Linked DNA regions of Homo sapiens: regions 1 and 2 are each linked to region 3. Evidence: promoter capture Hi-C in 16 types of primary human blood cells and fetal thymus (Javierre and others, 2016). All regions are on one chromosome and are shown on one strand. Each heading gives the region's core, a stretch centred on a gene start or on the middle of the fragment in contact. The rest is flanking DNA. Distances are from core to core; before and after follow the strand shown. Region 1 overlaps LOC102724520 (a long non-coding RNA gene). Region 2 has its middle 110 kb from the start of LINC02543. Region 3 holds the start of GMPR (guanosine monophosphate reductase).

Region 1 (2,700 bases), core at 107-2,606, 510 kb after region 3:
TGCTGCCATTTGTATTATGCCATTTAGGTACTTAATTTCTATATTCAAAGCTGGATGTTGAACTAAGCTACCATGCACCTGCTACACTCTCATTTGCCCTCATTATCTTAAGGATATGGTTGGGATATGGTCATGCTTGTAGAACTTGATGAACTTCAGATCTCTCAGAGGCTGTGTTTTTTATACATGTCCCCCATCAGCCTCCCTCAACCTTTGTTCAGGTTCTTTTGACGGGGCTGTGTGATGCCTGTCTGCATTCTGCCCTTCGCCCCTGACGAATTCATTCAGAAGAAGTCAGAGTTGCTGTTCAACCGAGAACATAAAGAGGCTCTTCTCCCTTGGAAACCACTGTGTACCTTTGATTCAGATCTCTCTCAATCTGCCCTAGGAACTTCTAATAAAAGAATTAGGAGGAATGTTGACATTCTCTGTGTCTGGAAAGGCAGGAGGGCCACCAAAGAAAGAGAACCTATGAGGAAGTGCAGCATAGGCAGTAGGGCACTGCCCAGACCACCTCCTCAACCCCCCACTTCATGAAGGACATGCCTCGTCAGGGATTTCTCAGCTGTGGAGAACTCCCTTGACCGAGGTCACCCCCCTTCCCAGAGTGGCCCACATGGAATAAAAAGGCCGGGCCATCTAGGCCCACCTTGGGACGCTTCTGAAGGGCCATTTCCACTCCAGTGCGCCCCACGGGCAGGGGCTGTGGTGATGCCTGCATGACAGCTCAGCTTCTTCTGCCCACACCTTCCACAGATGTTGATCCTGAGGGCAGTCCCTAATCAACACCCTGCACACTAAACTCTGGGGGACCCACCCTGTGACAGAGTGCTTATTTGGAAAAGGGAAGGGACATTATCATGATCTGCTGTCTTCTATATCATTTCCAGATGCTGGTCTGTTATCACTAACAATAATTACCACTAACCTCTCTGGTAAGGAGACAACACCGAAACAAAACTGGACTGAGAATAAGCTCATAGCAAAGGAGGAAAATCAAAAGTTTTTACCTCATCAGCAGCATCAATGACGTGAAATTGCCAGGCATTTCACCTCTATTACTTCAGTTAACTCTCACAAACATTTGATAAAGCAGATCTTATCCTCATTCTGTGAATTAGGAAACCGACCTGGAGACGGAGAATAACTTGACTAGACCACAGGGATCAAATGCATTTAAGCCTCAGTCTTCTGCCTCCAAACCCCAGCTAAATGTTGCTGTATTCAACATATAGTTAAATAATGCCTTACACATGTACCTTTTGAAAACTGGGCCTTGCCTGCAAAAGATATTGCTTTCAAACAAAGTTATATTGTACTATACTGGTGTAAAGTTTATTTTGTGGTTTAAGACAGTATCTAATAAAGTCTGTGTAACGTGGAGTTTGAATCAAGTTGAGTCCTCTAAAATCCATTGAATAGAGAGGCTGAAACTCTTAACAGTTTTGTATTCTGTCTCTCTGTTTCTTCTGTTTTCTAGTATTAATGGACAGACTGTGTATGAGGATAGATTAGCATTTTCGAGAACGATTTCATCAAAATGCAGCTCAGTCCTTTGACTCCTGCTAGCAGGTTTCCTGGACCCTATGGTAGGCATTTTATGTCCCTCCTTCACCCCTGGCTTCCTCTTTATCCTTTGTTGTTGCTTTGTCCTCATTTCCCCCATTACTTACATATTTGTTTCATCTTTTAACCTGCTGTTTATGTTGCTCTCAGCTGTTTCAAATCCTTTTTAGAAAGTCATTTCCATGTTCTGCATTACTTCACCTCATCTTTTCCCTGTAAGAAAGGTACCAGAATAATAGCTTCTTAATCTTCTAGAAACCACACGGATATCTGAGCCAGCATGGTAGAGGGGTCATAGTTATGCTTCTCCCACACATTTGTTAATATTAGGGAGGCAGAGTTACACAGCGTAACAAGCCTAGGATTTAGAGTCAAATGGACAGGGGCTCAAATCCCAGCCCTACCAATGAATGCTTTGGGCACATTCATCTTTGTACACATTAACCTCTCTGAACATAAAATAACACAACTTGAAATGTTGGGTAGAGTAAGTAATGTATTTGAGGCATCGGAAGTTGTTCAATAAATGGGCCCTGTCATTTTCACTAGATTTTAAGCCCCTCGTGGGCAGAGAAGGCGCCAATTCAACTCCAGCCTCTCAAATCATGCCTGATAGTATTAAGTGTACTCTAAAGTAATGATGCATCACTGAATGGCTGTGAATGACATTGTGGTGCAGGGAGAAGAGCGATGGATTGTGAGCTCTGCCATTAGCCAGTTATATGGCTGTTGGAAGCCTTGTTAGGCCTCTATTTCTTAAGAAGTAAAGTGAGGTATAACTGGATCATTTCTGTGATCCCTTCCAGGTTTAAGGTTGATGATTTTATGGAGTCTGACAAATGTTTGGTCCCAGAGATGGGTAGGATAGATCAGAGATGTCCCCATCTTCTCTCTCTCTCTCTCTCTCTCTCTCTCTCTCTCTCTGCTTCACCAGACATTGGCTGTGTACTGAGCTTAACTTTGCCTAAGGCTGCCTCTCACTGAGCTCTGCAGGAGAGGGAAGGGAGACTCCCAAGGATCACCAATGGCAGCAACAAGAGAGCTTCATCCCCCTATCACAGCACCTTTGAAAGGGACAGAAGCCCTAATACCAGCCAAGATTGTGTATTATTCTGATTGAATTTGCTGGCCCAA
Region 2 (2,700 bases), core at 101-2,600, 350 kb after region 3:
GAAGCAGGCAAAGGTGCAGCTTGCTCTTGGGGGTCTGGAAGTCAAGAGAAATCGGTTGTTTTGAGGACTTAAGAGAACTTTTTCAATTCATAAGCTCCATAAAATGTAGGGGAATCTCTTCTAAAATGTAAACAGCCATATTATAGCTTGGGATATGCTACAAATTAGGTGTGAATGTACACACTGAGGCAGGTGCACCTTGCCCGGGACCCCTCTTTCCCCACCTTCTACCCCCGATATCTCCACAGATTCCCTCCCTCCTTTCACTGAGGTTTCTGTTCAAATATCATCTTATCAAAGAAAGTTCCTCTGAACTCCTCTTCTAACGAAACATCCAGACTTGTCCCCTCCCATCCCCTTACATTGCTTTGTTTTTCCTTTTAGCACTTATCATGAATAACATACTACTTTATTATACTCTTTTTAGTAAATATCCAATACCATGTAAAAAAATAGTAAAGGTTATAATTTTAAAACAATAAAAATGATTTTTTTAAGTGATAGACCAGGGTAAATTAAAGAAAAAAATAAGGAAAATACTTTTTAAAGGCATTGTGCTATTTCTTTAGTTATGGTGTTTGAGATGCTGTGTGATATGGGGGAAGGGGCTTGGCTTTGTGGAGACACAGACTTTGATGCCCGTTCTGGCTCTCTGATGTCCAGGCTTAGTGGCATTGGTTCAATCCCTCGCCCTTTGAACCTCTATGTCCTCATCTGAACACAGAAATAATCATTCGTATCTTTCTAGGATAATGGTAAAGATCAGCAAAAAATCTACAGTGTGCCTAGCATGAGGTCCACCCTTATTAAATTAGAGTTACTATTGTTACCTTAATTTAAATTCCATTAGTGATATGTTTCCTTATTTAATTCAAGTAGCTGATAGCATTTAATTTGTGAAATCAGTGTCACGAATGACATTTCTCGCTTTGGACAGGAACTGAATTACTTATTACCATGGAAGAGTAAGTTTACTCACTTTGCAATTATAATATTAATATAGATTCCTGGTACTTCAGAAACTGTTCAGCCTTATTGATACACAACTGAAAAATTAAAATAAGCAATGGTACCGCCCACCAAAAAATAGAAAGAAAGAAAAAAAGAAAAGAAATGAAAAGTCATAGCATACTACCTCACCAAAGGAGGCAGACAAGGAGGCTTAAGCTATACAACTTGATCTCTGACCTTGGAAAAATGACCCAAAGTACAGTGTGAACTGATGATAAGTTCTTAATAACTGACTTGTTTTCTGAGAGCCTGGCTATTAAAAAAAAATTCCCCTTTCTGACTATTATTATATTCAATTTAAAAATATTATTAAGTGATTGCAACTTATCACACCCTATGCTTGGCCTTGGAATACCACTATGCATGGGTCAGATCCAGACCTGTTTCCCAGGACTCAGATGCCAGTGGGAAATAGAGACAAGTATAGATTCTCTACCACCCAGTGTGGTAAGAGTAATGATGGATAGGAAAGCAGCACATATTACAGTGTTGGCAGCCATCTGTTTCTTCAGTTGCAGTTGGTAGGTGCATAGGTTTATTTTTATGATTCTGCATCATAACGTACGTGTATATTACATACTATTTTGATATACCAAGTGTTGCATAATTTAAAAGGCGAAGTAAGAGGGCTGTGGAGGCAGCCAGTGCATCCCTGTTATAACCTGGTAGATGTCACATCTAAGCCAAAAATAGAATGATGAGTGTGAGCCAGAGTAGGGAAGACAGGCAGTGGAAAGTATTCTCAGGCAGGTGGAGCACGGGAAAGAGGTCTGGAAGGAGGTGAGGGAGAGCAGACTGAGTAGTTTAGCATGGCTGAAATGTGGAGTGCGAGGCAGCAAGAGATGAGGGATGGCAGTAGAGACCTACACAGGACCGCAAACACAAAAGGCCTTGTGAGCCAGTCAAGGAAATGGGACTCTATTTCAAGGACGGTGAGGAGCCATGGAAGCATCTTCTAAAGCTGAGTTACAGGATTGGACTCACACCCTAGCTGCAGAGTGAATAGTGAATCAAAAGGAGCAAGACTGGAAGCAAGAAAATCACTGAAGACACATTTGTTTACTCATACGTTTTGCAAAGATCAGAAAGTTTTAAAATGCACAGCACTGGTAAGAGTGCAGACAGGCAGGGAATATAAATCGACATGCTCTCTTTAGAGGGCAATTTGTCAATATCTATCAAAATGAAAAATTCATATGCCTTTGATCTAACAGTTCCACTACTGTTAGGAATATATCTGGCAAATAAACTTGCACACCTAAGAAATGTGTGGAAAATGTTGTTTCAGCACTGGTAGTATGAAGATTTTTAAAATAAGTTGGATCATTCTAGGTAGAGATAAAAAGAGCACTGAGGGGCCAGGCACCGTGGCTCACGCCTGTAATCCCAGCACTTTGGGGGGCCGAGGTGGGCAGATCACTTGAGGTCAGGAGTTCCAGACCAGCCTGGCCAACATGGTGAAACCCTGTCTCTGCTAAAAATATAAAAATTAGCTGGGCGTGGTGATGCATGCCTGTAATCCCAGCTACTTGGGAGGCGGAGGCTGCAGTGAACTGAGATCGCACCACCACACGCTCCAGCCTGGGTGACATGAGCAAAACTCCATCTCAAAAAAAAAAAAGAGCATTGAGATGTGTTAAGTGATTAAAGCGAGATCACAAATATTGGGTATAGTATTCTGTCATATAA
Region 3 (2,700 bases), core at 57-2,556:
CTCCAGTCCTGCCGGGCTCCAAACCAGCCAATGCTGCTGCTTACAGAAGGCCACTTGGTTTAGTCATTGGCTAACGCGGAGGCTTCCCCAATCCAAGCAAGCCCTCGGCTGGCAGCCCCAGGCACTGCAGTTAGGCCTGGCACCGGAGTGGGCAGCGGACTTCTTTGCTGAGGGGATTTATTTATGGTCTTGTTTGTGGAGCTGAGTGGACGGAGCTGTGCAGGTTGGCCCAGCCTCCTCGTGTTTACTCCTTCAGCCCCAGCCTTCAACCGTGTCCGGTTTCCTCACCTTCCTCTCCAGCTCTCAGCAAAGCCAGTCACCAGCGCACACCACCCCGGGGCACTCTGCCTTTCAGGCAACTAGTTTATCCTTCAGGGACTGGCCTCCCTTCCCCCAGCCTCAGGCTATTTCCAGTCCGGTCTCCACCTGTTCCTTAGGATTTGAGGACATCCAGGCAGAACCAGGGAAATGCCCGAGGCTTCCAATTCGCCCCCACCTCTCTCACCCCAAAGCTTTCGAAACTCTTCTCCAGGGCTAGGCTGGGACCGCGGGCTGTCCAGTACCGCTGAGTCCCCAAGCCCCACTGCCAGCAAGGCCGCCAAACTCAGAAAGGAAACCCTGAACTTGTGCCCTGGGTTCTGGTTTTTCAGACGCGTTCACGAAGTTCCACCGCTGGACCCGAAGCGAAAGCAGCAGCAATTATCAGCACTAGGAGACGCAGCCAAAAATCACCGGGATCTGCAGTTGTTTTTCTCGTCCTCTCTCCCCTAGCTCCAGTTTCCTTTTCTTGCTATAAGCGCCCTCGTACCCCTATTCCTTCTAAACCAACTGGCCACTGGATCTCGCTCATCTGTGGTCGAGTTTCACTGTGAACTTCCCCTAGGCCACCCAACGGGACCGACGTGTAGAGAATTTCATGGGCCCCCGTATCACCGCCCTTAAAGACACCTCACGTCCTGGCAGGTGCTGGGGCGCGGGAACGGGGGCGCAGCGCCCCAGTCTCAAACACCAAAGCAGGCAGGGTAACCCGGTGCCACCCCCTTCCACCCACTTGCCCCGCGCCACCCGGAAAAAAAAATCCCACCCCACTGCGACTTCCGAACGTCCCCCACCTCGGCTCGGCTCTTGAGGCTGCTCCGCTTAGGTCGGAGCAGGACATCCTTGAAGTCGAGCTTGAGGTCCGCATCTATGCGGGGCATGGTGCAGCGGCTCCTGGCTGCGGCGGCGGCGACGGCGGGGCGGGGGCGCCTGCGCGGGGCGGCGCGGGGAGCGCCGGGGCTGCTGTGCCGCGGCCGGGAGCTGGCGTGGGCCGGGTGCGCACGCCGCGGTCTTAAACACGCCCCGCCGACCCGCGGTCACGCTTGGCCCGCCCCGGGCACCGCCTCCGCCTCAGGCAGGGGTTGAGAGGCAGACTGGTTAGGGACAGATTGGCGGCGAAGCCCTTCCTCCTCGCGCCGCCGCCCCCGTCCTTCCCCCTCAGGTGTACAGCCCGTGGCAGTGACCGAATGGGGACGGGGGAGGGAAATGCGCACCGTTCTGTTTGTCCCCAGGGTCCCCGATGGAGAGGGGACTTAGCGTGTGGCTGCCTTATCCAAGGGAAAAGTCGCTCCCTGAGAGCTTTTACTTTTTTTTTTTTTTTTTTGAGACAGTCTCACTGTCGCTCAGGCTGGAGTGAGTGGCGCTATCGCCGCTCATCGCAGCCTCGACTTCCTGGGCTCAAACGATTCTCATGCCTCAGCCTCCTCGAGTACAGGCGCACGCCGCCACACCCAGCTTATTTTAAAAATTATTTCCTAGAGGCGGGGTTTCACCATATTGCCCAAGCTGGTCTCGAGCCCCTGACCTCAAGTGATCCGCCTGCCTCGGCCTCCCAAAGTGCTGGGATTACAGGCGTGAGCCACCGTGCCCGGCGGATTCTCCTTTTTTAAAATTCAAGCCCGGTGTGCTCACCCAGTGTTGAGGAGCACGTCTCTCACTTGCCAAAGAACCAGAAACCCCAGGGAGGTTGTATAGAATTAAGGAAAAGAACGTGGGCAGTTAACTGTTTAGCTGTACTGGGATTGTGGAGGCCATGATTCCCTTTGGACTTGTTGTTAAGAGACAAGGTCTCACTGTGTTGCCCAGGCTGGTCTTGAACTACTGGGTTCAAGCAATCCTCCCGCCTCAGCTTCCCAGTGTTGGGACTACTGGCGTGAGCCACTGCGCCCAGCCTGGATTTCAGGATTTTTGTTTAAGAAAAACAGTGAGGTCTGTAGTCGACGCAGATCCTGAGATTTGAGGAGCCTGAGTCCCCTCTGAGGGTTACCAGTGATGTGAGTTCGAGGGGTTACCAGTGATGTGAGTTCATTGATTCACTTATTGACCTTACCGACCTTTTATTATACATTTGAAATGTGCTGCCGGGCTTCATGCATCATCTCATTCACTCTCAGAACAACCCAATGAAGAAAGAGCCATTTCACAGATAAGGAAAAACGAGGCTTCTATAAATGAAATAACTTGCCTAAGGCCGCAGAAAAATTCAATATAAATTTCTCAGTCCTTAAAACTTGCTACAACTATTCACTGAAGCTGCTTTTGTCCTGGAACATCTCTGCCTGAGTTTGAAACCTGGTTCCACCACTGTCTAGCTAGGTGACCTTAGGGGAGTCAATTTCTCTAAGTCTCAGTTTTCTCATAAAAGGGGTGGGGGCAGGAGGG

What was found. The method cuts DNA at HindIII sites, captures the fragments that hold promoters and counts their contacts. A CHiCAGO score of 5 or more calls a contact.
Region 1: a contact is called between a fragment that was not itself captured here and the fragment with the promoter of GMPR in region 3, in 4 of 17 cell types (total B cells, erythroblasts, naive CD4 T cells and 1 more). The highest score is 5.7, in total B cells.
Region 2: a contact is called between a fragment that was not itself captured here and the fragment with the promoter of GMPR in region 3, in 2 of 17 cell types (naive B cells and neutrophils). The highest score is 5.6, in naive B cells.

The regions. Positions count from the first base shown.
Region 1 is chr6:15,728,723-15,731,422 of GRCh38, reverse strand. LOC102724520 (a long non-coding RNA gene) reads left to right here. Exons shown (of 4, transcript XR_427883.5): 4 at 891-1,383. Among named protein-coding and RNA genes, the nearest start is that of DTNBP1, 67 kb to the right of the region's middle. The HindIII fragment of the contact is 2,746 bases long and covers 1-2,700 here.
Region 2 is chr6:15,884,808-15,887,507 of GRCh38, reverse strand. No RefSeq gene overlaps it. Among named protein-coding and RNA genes, the nearest start is that of LINC02543, 110 kb to the left of the region's middle. The HindIII fragment of the contact is 2,945 bases long and covers 1-2,700 here.
Region 3 is chr6:16,237,193-16,239,892 of GRCh38, reverse strand. It overlaps GMPR (guanosine monophosphate reductase), which reads right to left and starts at 1,306. Exons shown (of 9, transcript NM_006877.4): 1 at 1,113-1,306. The coding sequence starts at 1,199. RefSeq lists silencers at 1,204-1,303, 1,424-1,523. The HindIII fragment of the contact is 2,876 bases long and covers 515-2,700 here.